Linked DNA regions of Homo sapiens: region 1 is linked to region 2. Evidence: promoter capture Hi-C in 16 types of primary human blood cells and fetal thymus (Javierre and others, 2016). All regions are on one chromosome and are shown on one strand. Each heading gives the region's core, a stretch centred on a gene start or on the middle of the fragment in contact. The rest is flanking DNA. Distances are from core to core; before and after follow the strand shown. Region 1 overlaps LRRC31 (leucine rich repeat containing 31). Region 2 holds the start of SEC62 (SEC62 preprotein translocation factor).

What was found. The method cuts DNA at HindIII sites, captures the fragments that hold promoters and counts their contacts. A CHiCAGO score of 5 or more calls a contact.
Region 1: a contact is called between a fragment that was not itself captured here and the fragment with the promoter of SEC62 in region 2, in 2 of 17 cell types (total B cells and naive B cells). The highest score is 11.6, in total B cells.

The regions. Positions count from the first base shown.
Region 1 is chr3:169,854,011-169,859,073 of GRCh38, reverse strand. It overlaps LRRC31 (leucine rich repeat containing 31), which reads left to right. Exons shown (of 9, transcript NM_024727.4): 4 at 2,202-2,369; 5 at 2,571-2,738; 6 at 4,094-4,261. Among named protein-coding and RNA genes, the nearest start is that of LRRC31, 13 kb to the left of the region's middle. The HindIII fragment of the contact is 4,049 bases long and covers 1,575-5,063 here.
Region 2 is chr3:169,963,793-169,968,486 of GRCh38, reverse strand. SEC62 (SEC62 preprotein translocation factor) reads right to left here and starts at 1,680. Exons shown (of 8, transcript NM_003262.4): 1 at 1,629-1,680. The coding sequence starts at 1,664. It also overlaps the pseudogene FHL1P1. RefSeq lists enhancers at 1-5, 1,562-2,001. The HindIII fragment of the contact is 8,040 bases long and covers 1,020-4,694 here.

The DNA.
Region 1 (5,063 bases), core at 2,350-4,849, 110 kb after region 2:
TTTTATTTTTAGTAGATCCTACTTCAAATCCTAGTGCCCATCCCCCACCCCCCCCCTTTTTTTTTTTGAGATGGCGTTTCATTCTTGTCACCCAGGCTGGAGTGCAGTGGTGCAATCTTGGCTCACTGAAACCTCCGCCTCCTGAGTTCAAGTGATTCTCCTGCCTCAGCCTCCCAAGTAGCTGGGATTACAGGCATGTACCACCATGCCTGGCTAATTTTTTTGTATTTTTAGTAGAGATAGGGTTTCACCATGCTGGCCAGGCTGGTTTTGAACTCCTGACTTCAAGTGATCTGCCCGCCTTGGCCTCCCAAAGTGCTAGGATTACAGGCGTGAGCCACCATGCCCAGCCTCTAGTGCCACTTTTAACTAGCTTTGTGAACATGAACAAATAATTTAAATTTCTGAGCCTCGGTTTTCTTATATCTGAAATAGGGATAACCTCCCTCTCAAAAAATTGTTGCAAGGATTAAACAATTTCTGTAAAGTGCCTACTGCATGCCTGGTGCATAATAGTTGCTCAATAACTGATAGTCCTTCTTTCTCCATTCTGTCATCTAAAACCACCTTTCTGTGGGTTTACATGATGAGTTTAGCCCCACATTAAGCAGCTGGTTATCATGTAGCAGACTCACAATTTTAACATACCATTACTCAGGTGTGAAAAGACAACTTTCTTATTTTCTGTGATTAACCTGATCTTTTTCCTGACCCTCCATCCTTAGAAAACAAGAAAATGAAATTTCTGCCCTGGGACCTGTTCCAAACTTACCTGGTTGAGGAGGGAGTCTGCACTGTTGTTGTTCTGATGTTTGCGCCCTTTTCCCTCTCCCAGAGTTATTTCTTCTCTGGAAGGACTTCTGCATCCTCTCCCATCAGGAGGGGCTTACCTATCACCCATACTCTATCTTCTTCACTCAACCTTAATGCAGATGGGGTATAGGGAAAATAAATGGTTTCTTGATAAGAGAACATAAATCAGAAGGCATTTCAAAATTGTTACACCCATTATAATAGTTTAGTACCGAGTGGCAAATGCATGGCACTCCAGTACCATGACCACTGCAGACATAACTAATCAATCATGAGCTCTTTCTCCCTGAGCCTGGGGAACACCTCAGGGCTATAGAAAGTCACCCCCAATTGACTGGTAATAGCACAAAAAATGATGCCTGTTCATTGCTGGCTTAAGATGCTATAACTCCTGGGGAATACGCATTTTAGCATGGGGTTCCTGGACTTCTAAAACCTTAATCCATGGAATGAATAAACCATGGTAGAAGTTCAAACCCAGGGACAGGTAGTAAAGAGGGTTCTAGATACAGGGGACTTGCCAGAATGCTTAATTGTTTGCACATTGAGAAAGTACATTTTCCATGTATGTGTCTACCCGCAAGGCAGTGAAAATCATTCCTAAGGACAGATCTGTTTGGTCACTTCTCCTATTCTCTCCCAGCCTCCACTCTGCAGCCCTGGGAGCTTTCCAGTGTGTAATGGTTTCAGAAATGTTAGTTTTCATCCCTGTGTCACTGCACCCTCCTTTACCCCTTAAGGCAGCACGGCTGTTATAAGCTTCTAGTGCCTGATGCTCTATTATTAGTTTCTCTCTGTAGTGGTCAGTTCAGGTTGCATGTGATATTCCTCATATATATATATATGTATATGTATATGTGTGTGTATGTATATATGTGTATATATATACTTGTGTGTGTGTGTGTGTGTGTGTGTATATATATATATATATATATATATATAGGCATGTGATATTCTTGACATTGGAGAGAGCTTTACCTCTGTGGTGGCCAGTTATCTGCTTTGCCTCACTTCTATCCCTGGTCAAACTTCTCAGAAATGCTGATCCCAGAGAGAGGGGCTAAGGGAAAGCAGATGAACCACCACAAAAGCAGCTTCCTAAAACCACCCTACCAATAGGTGGATTTTTCTACAACAACAATTGTTTAGCTCATACGCATGGCTTCAGAATTTTGGAGGGATTAGAATGACTGTGCCTGTAAATCTAGAGAAGCACGCCCTGCTATGAAGGAATTGGGTTCTTTCCTTCTCTCTGTTCCTCGGTGCCAAACAGGACAGTACCTGGCCCAGTTTCCACACTCCATTAATCATGGTTGTGCTGATTCTGAAATGAATTCCCTGCTTTTCTGACTAGTGACCAACAGAATTTTCGGGCCATTTGTTAACAGGAGAAGCATTTGAGATGATTCCTGAACTTGAAGAGCTAAATTTGTCTTGGAACAGTAAAGTGGGAGGAAATTTGCCTCTGATCCTTCAGAAGTTCCAAAAAGGGAGCAAGATACAAATGATTGAGCTTGTGGATTGCTCCCTCACGTCAGAAGATGGGACATTTCTGGGTAAGTGGAATTTGAAGAGAAAAAAAAAAAGTGAAGATGCCCACTGGATAGCTTGGGAAGTTTGCTGTGTTTTGTCTTATTCTGAATTTAAAGAAGGGTATGTAGGAGGGGAGTGGAGTTTTACGTCACGATATCCCCAGGTGATGTAAAACTCCACTCCCCTCCTACCTACCCTTCTTATTTGGATTTCTTTCCTTCTAGGTCAACTGCTACCTATGCTGCAAAGTCTCGAAGTACTTGATCTTTCCATTAACAGAGACATTGTTGGCAGTCTGAACAGTATTGCTCAGGGATTAAAAAGCACCTCAAATCTGAAAGTACTGAAGTTACATTCATGTGGATTATCACAAAAGAGTGTCAAAATATTGGGTGAGTTAACAATGGCTGGATTTAAGATTACATGTATAATTATATATGATATACATATAAATATATATATTGAAAAGTTACTAGGAAATATAGCAAAATATAAACAGTGGTTGTGCTGGGGAATAAGATTATGGGTAATTGAAATCTCCTTTAGGCTGGGCACAGTGGCTTACATCTGCAATCCCAGCACTTTGGGAGGCTGAGGCAGGCGGATCACTTGAGATCAGGAGTTTGAGACCAGCCTGGCCAACATGGTGAAACCCCATCTCTACTAAAAATACAAAAATTAGTTGGGCGTGGTGGTACGTGCGCCTGTAATCCCAGCTACTTGGGAGGCTGAGGCAGGAGAAATTGCTTGAACTCAGGAGGTGAGGTTGCAGCGAGCCGATGTGGGTGACAGAAGAGACTCCATCTCAAAAATATATACATATTTTATATTTTATTTATTTTCTAAATATTTTATAGAGAACATACACTTTCATGATTATAAAAATAAGCCTTTAGTATGACTGACTCTGAAAAGGCCAGTATATTTTAGGTTAAGATAAACACTGGGAAAAATAAAGTTTCTTTGCTGCTAGAACTACTAGGTTTTCTCTTTTGAAAGTGTCAGCATTATTTTATGCTCAGTAGTAGGAAGGAATAGGTACTGATAAAAAGAACGGCTTCGATGGCGTCCACAGTTAAAACTTACTCCTCTGTATATAGTATCCATATTAACAGAGAATAGGAAATGATATTGTGTTTCCCCTTCAACTTACAGAACCTGTAATATTCACTGGCAGCTTGAATAAGTCTAAAAATCTATGTAAACTCCAATGCTCAAGTGTAATAGGAGAGGATGCTCAAGTGTAGTTGCAGGATTCATGTCAAAACCCTTGGCAATGTATGCAGATCTTAGGAAGCGTGTGTGTGAAATCATGGTCGGGTTCACAGAAGGCCAGATGGTAGGAAGTCTACACTTATTCCTCCTTTTGTCTTTTGTGAACACAGTGTGTTCCCTCAACCTCCCTTACTGCACCATGGCCCCACCCCTGTTCCACACCTTCTTACCACCTTGCGATATGTCAGAATGGTAGCAGAGATGGGGTTTCACCATCTTGGCCAGGCTGGTCTTGAACTCCTGACCCTGTGATCCACCCTCTCAGCCTCCCAAAGTCCTAGGATTACAGATGGGAGTCATCACGCCCAGCCCGGTTTTTCTTTTTTTAAGAGATGGATCTCACTATGCTGCCCAAGCTGGACTCGAACTCCGGGGCTCAAGCAATCCTCCTGCCTTGGTCTCCCTAGCAGCTGGGACTATAGGTACACCACTGTGTCCAGCTACCAGAATGGGATTCTGACTTTCTTTGTAGATGCTGCTTTTAGGTATTTGGGTGAGCTGAGGAAATTAGATCTTTCCTGCAATAAGGATCTAGGTGGAGGTTTTGAAGACTCGCCGGCTCAGTTGGTCATGCTAAAGCATCTACAAGTCCTAGATCTTCACCAGTGCTCACTAACAGCAGATGACGTGATGTCACTGAGTAAGTATATATTGCAGAGCAAAGGAAAGACTTTTGGAATCTTGGCCTATATTTGGAAACTTGGAAATTTTAATATGTACACTTAAATTTACTTCTTTTGAAGTTATTGGAAAGATCAATTCATAACAGTTCTGTGAGTGCCCCAATGTAGTACTTGGCATGTATTAAACGCCCAGTAAATGTTAGTGAATCTCAGTTCCACCCATACATGTCTGCAAATGATAGATTTGGCACTTAGGGAAAATTTTGAATTTATGTTGCTGTTTAGAAATAAATCTCTTAGTGTCACAAAGTTGATTACAAACAGGTTACATACCTGTAACCAAACGTCAACACAAAGGGTATCGAGGCTTTCTGAATAACAAGTGAAGTGAAGCCACTCAGATACAAATGAAGTTACAGAAAAAGAGTCAGCAGGGTGGCGCGTGATGGCTGTACGTTACTGCTTTGGGCAACTACACTTATTTTCCTACTGCAAACATAGTTCTGTAATTACAACATGTAATATATAAATGCAATTTCCCATAACAGAGCAAGCGTAGCCTTGAGATTAAGGGTTTTATCCCACCTGTGGCCACAATAAGCCTTCAATGTACATCCAGCATCTGACCATGGCTCACCATCTAGACCTCCACTACCCTGGTCCAGGCCACGGTTATCTCATGCTTAGATTATTGCAAGAGCCCAAATGGTCTCCCTGTCCTCTAACACTCTGACTTCATTCACTCCCCCTCCTCCTCACAGACTCCACCCTGGCCACTGCCCTTGCTGATTCTCAGACACGCCAGGCATGCTCTGGCCT
Region 2 (4,694 bases), core at 431-2,930:
TTGCTCAAAGTTACTCAGCCAATAATTGGTGGAGGTGGGGTACAAACAGGCAGTTTGGCTCAAGTTTTAGCTCTCTGCCACTGTCACATTACTCCACAGCCTCTGTTTAATATAAGATCACAACTAAATAAGAGCAGCTATTCAAAAGGTGAATTATATAGCCCTTACAACAATATTAAAGAGCAACTGGAATTGTAAAACAATGTGTATTGAAGGGCATAAAATTGTACTGTCAAGTGTAAATCTAAGGAGTTCTGTAAGTACAAATCTGACAGACAATTTCAATATACAATCTAATAAAATACTGTATACCCACGTCAGAGGAATAACACTAACTCTTGAAAGATTAAGAACAGTATAATTAGAAACTTCTACTGATCTTAAGACCTAGTCTTATCTGTCTGAACTCGAAATCTGCCTCTTTCTAATTCCCTTCTGCACCCTGTTCGGAACTACTTTATTTCTGCCAAATTCCAAAATTCCAAATTTACTGATCATGTGTGTCTTTTTCACAGCACTTAAAAAGTTTACAGAAGAATTTTAACTTGCATAGCTCAAAACATCTGTATTGTACGCCAATAAATCGATAAACTTAAAAAAAAAAAGAAGGGATAAAATGGAAGAAAGAAAAAATCATTCTAAGCAATGAAATAGTAAGGAACAGAAAGGCAATGATGAATGTAACAATTTATGATTATAGTAACAATTTACTACATGTGATCAATTTGAGGGCTTATGAAGGTTTCTCAGCACATCAGCTGATGAGACGACTAATAAATATCCTGAGTCCAAGATGTTCTACATAATTAATCCTCTTGGCAAAGAACAAGAACCAGGGAAAATCGCAAGGAAGAAATGCACAAATGACACGCATGTGGAATTAGGGGGAGATGTTATGTACGTTACTACGAGGATGACACACTGGCATGTGAAAGGTTTCTGGGCTCCACCAGCTCGTTGCAGCACCAACGAGGTTGTGGTTGTTTACACCACGTCGCCCGGAAAAAAGCCGGCAAGCTTCAAGTGGACTATTAAGTTAATAATATTGAAGGGAAAGAAGGGCAACGCAACTGAACATCTGGATGAGCAGATCCCTGCCTAGGCCCCGAGGCAGCTGACCAAGTCCAGATCATTCCCCCTTACGGTCTATGCGCACAAAGAACCAGCTGCTTTAGGTCAGTCCGCCGCCTCCTGCTACCCCTATTACCGTGGCCTTAATTTCAGGCCAGCTAAGGCCAGAGGATGGGGTGAAGGGAGGGGAGGAGCCCCGGGAAGGGTCAGCGTCTGCGCCCCAGGGGAGGCTGACCTTCCAGCTCAGGCCCGGGACAGCGCGACCACAGGAACTCCAGGCCCACAGCCGCGCCTCCGCAGCCGGATTCTGAGCGCGGCGCCTCCTTCCTTCCCCTGCTGCTCCACCACCACCTCCGTCTCTGTCTCCGCCGTCGCCAACACCGCCCCCCCTCAGGCCCCTCACAACGCGCAGCCTGCAGCCAGCTGCCTCGCGGCGGAACCCCACCCCACCCCACCCCACCTCGCCCTTGCTTTCGCTCGCCCTTTTAGGGGGCTTTCCCCGCCCCTTCCACTATCCAGCGCGCCGAAGCCCCCTGCCCAGAGCTCGGCTTTGCTACCTGGATCCGCTTCTTGTGTCTCCTGCGTTCCGCCATGTTGGCCGCTCCGCCCGGTTCCCTCTGACGTGGAGCGAGGAGGGGGCGGTGGAAACCTCGCGAGAACGCGCCCCGAGGCCCGTTATGTAATCCGCCGGCTGGCGCCCCTGGAATGGGGAGGTCGGCCGCCTGGCGGGGCCAGCGGTCCTTAGCGGTGCCTTCTCTCCCCTCTTCCCTCCGCTCCTGCTGTGCGGGAACTGGAGAATCGTTAGGACGTGGAGGAAGCAGAGAAGTGGATCAGAGAACAGGAGGGCTGGGAAGAGTCCTGGTTTCTCAATCCTGACTGAGCATCTGAATCACCTGAGAAGCTACTAAAATGCAGATTCCCCGACCCCATCCCCTTAGAGTCAGAGTCTGTGCATTTAGGGTGCGGCCTTTCTCAGAGGGATCGACTGAGACCTACTGAACCCTAGAAGTCTTTACCTGAGGCAGTTCCTGCAATGTACTGTATATTTCATGACATTCCATGTAAAAGATGACAAGACCGAGACCGTTGAGTGACAGAGATAAGAACTGACTTATCTAAGGCTCCACAGGTGGTAGATGGCAGAGCCGAGACCTGAGCCAATTATCTTTTCTCCTGCACTGTGCGGGGTAATACAGCTCGTTTAAAACAAGCTGGAGTCTCCATTCCGTTTTCCGCGTTGCTTCTCACAACTCACTGTTAGAATCCAGAAGTAAGAGAACCCGGGGAAGCGTAAGGAAGATGAATAGGACAAAGATTCTAAGAAGGTGGGAAGGAAGAAGGCTGCAGTCTATTTCAAGTCTGGTGAATTTCAATCACTGTAGCCTTTATTGTTATTTTAGAGCCACCTAGACCAAAAGAGAAGGAGCTCAAATTGCTGGTAAGTGCTTAGATAGAAATTCCCTTGACTGACTTTATAGAGATCTTTAAAGCGTTTTTAATTGTAGAAAATTGGGAAAATTCAGAATAGAAAGATGTTCTTTTTTTTTTGATGCTGAGTTTCGCTCTATATTGCCCAAGCTGGAGTGCAGTGGCGCAGTCTCGGCTCACTGCATCACCGAACTCCTCGTCTCAACTGATCTCCCTCCTCAGCCTCCTGAGTAGCTGGAACTACAGGCATGAGCCACCACACCTGGCTAATTTTTACTTTTTTTGTGTGGAGATGGAGTTTCCTTATGTTGCCCGGGCGGGTCTTGAACTCCTGGGCTCAAAACGATCCACCTGTCTCTGTCTCCTGAGTAACTGGAACTACAGGCGTGAGCCACTGTGACCGTTCAGTTTATTTTCTTATAGTATTCTGACTTTGTGTGTGTGTGTGCATGTGTGTTTGTATTTATATTTTTTCCTGTTTCCCAAATTGAGATCATATGCAATAAGGCAGCTGCTTTTTTCACTTAATGTTAGGTTGTAAGCGTTTATTATACCATTAAAATTTTTTTCCAGGTTTCCCATATTATATATCTAACCTAAGAGCAATTAAATATGTAAGTAAGGCAAATTGCAGCATCTTGATGCCTAATTTTTTAATAAAGTAAGATTGCTGAATTTTTTTTTTTTTTTTGGACTATGCAGTTCTGGTCTCAGGAGTCATTTAATTCCTTTCTCCTCTATAATCTATAATTTGGGTGTGTGTATAGTCAGGGATGGGGTGAGAAAGAAGTAATTATTCTTGCCAATTAACCCAAAACATAATATAGAATATGAAATGTCTTTATTTCCTTCAATCCCTCTACCCACCCAGAATGATGAATCTGTTTTGTGCTGTTTTATGTGGACATAAACACTGGACTATTTTATAGGAGACCTGGTCTATAAATGAAAATATTATTGCATTCAGTAGGTATTGAGTGCCTACTAGATAGATGTCAAATGTTAGGTTAGGACTATGGTGGGGAATAAAAATCCTTTATAGACAATGACTCATCCTCAAGTTACTGCCTTACTATTTTCTTCATCAGCAGAGCTTTAATTTAGTGTCCTCTTGTTCTGTCATTCACTCCTTAGATTACAACAATTTGGTTTCTACCTCCACCATCCAGTAACAATTATTTTGTCAAACCCAATACCTTCTCTCAGCTGGCATCTTACTCAGTATTTGACAATATTGACTGTTCTTCTTGACTTCTTTTCCTTCTTTGGCATGTATATCAACTTCTTTCTGATTTCTCGTTGACTTCTCTCCTTTTACCCAATTCTCACATGTTCCTGGCCACCGTTTTTATATGTTCACCTTCCTCTTGTCTCTTCTATTTGTGCATTCTGTTTACAGATTAATTCCAAAATACTGCATTCATGTTTAATTCCAGATTTCTTCTGGATGTTTCCACTGGATGTCCAACTAAAAATCACCATTTCCCCAGCAAAACCTGCCCCTTTTACTGTAAAAATCTAATAACTACATCGTTGTTCACTCAATTACTCATGCTAGAAACCTTGGATGCATCCCAACCATGCCTTTCTGCCAGTCAGTCACCAATCCTGTTGATTCTACAGCTGAGATATTTGGAATTCTTCCCTCCCTTATCATTCCCATTACCATTGCCTTGTTCAAGTCCTTATCATCACCTACGTGAACTAGTATTGCAATGGCCTTTTAATTGTTCTCCTCACTTCTATGCTCTTTACACTCCAGACCTTCTTCCTTCCATGACTCCCTGTTGTGTGTAGCAGCATGAATGATGGCTAATGTTCACACATATAACCTCAGATTTATGGGTCAAATTTCTGGGTCTCCTTTCCATTTAATATTTATATAAAAATATTTATATAAAAATAGCTCAAATCCTTTTCCCAGCACACCATCTATATTATTGATGGTGGCAGTAAGGAGTTTCCCCTAGCCACTTCTAGTTCCAACTTACTTTTGAATTTCCAATTTTACTCTTATTATTTGACAGTTATTTCTCTCCCAAACGAGGAGTATTTTTTGTTATTGTTGTTGTTGTTGAAGACAGGGTCTTGCTCTGTCGCCTAGGTAGGAGTGCAGTGGTGCGATCTCGGCTCACTGCAACCTCCGCCTCCTGGGCTCAAGGGATTCTCCCACCTCAGCCTCCTGAATAGCTGGG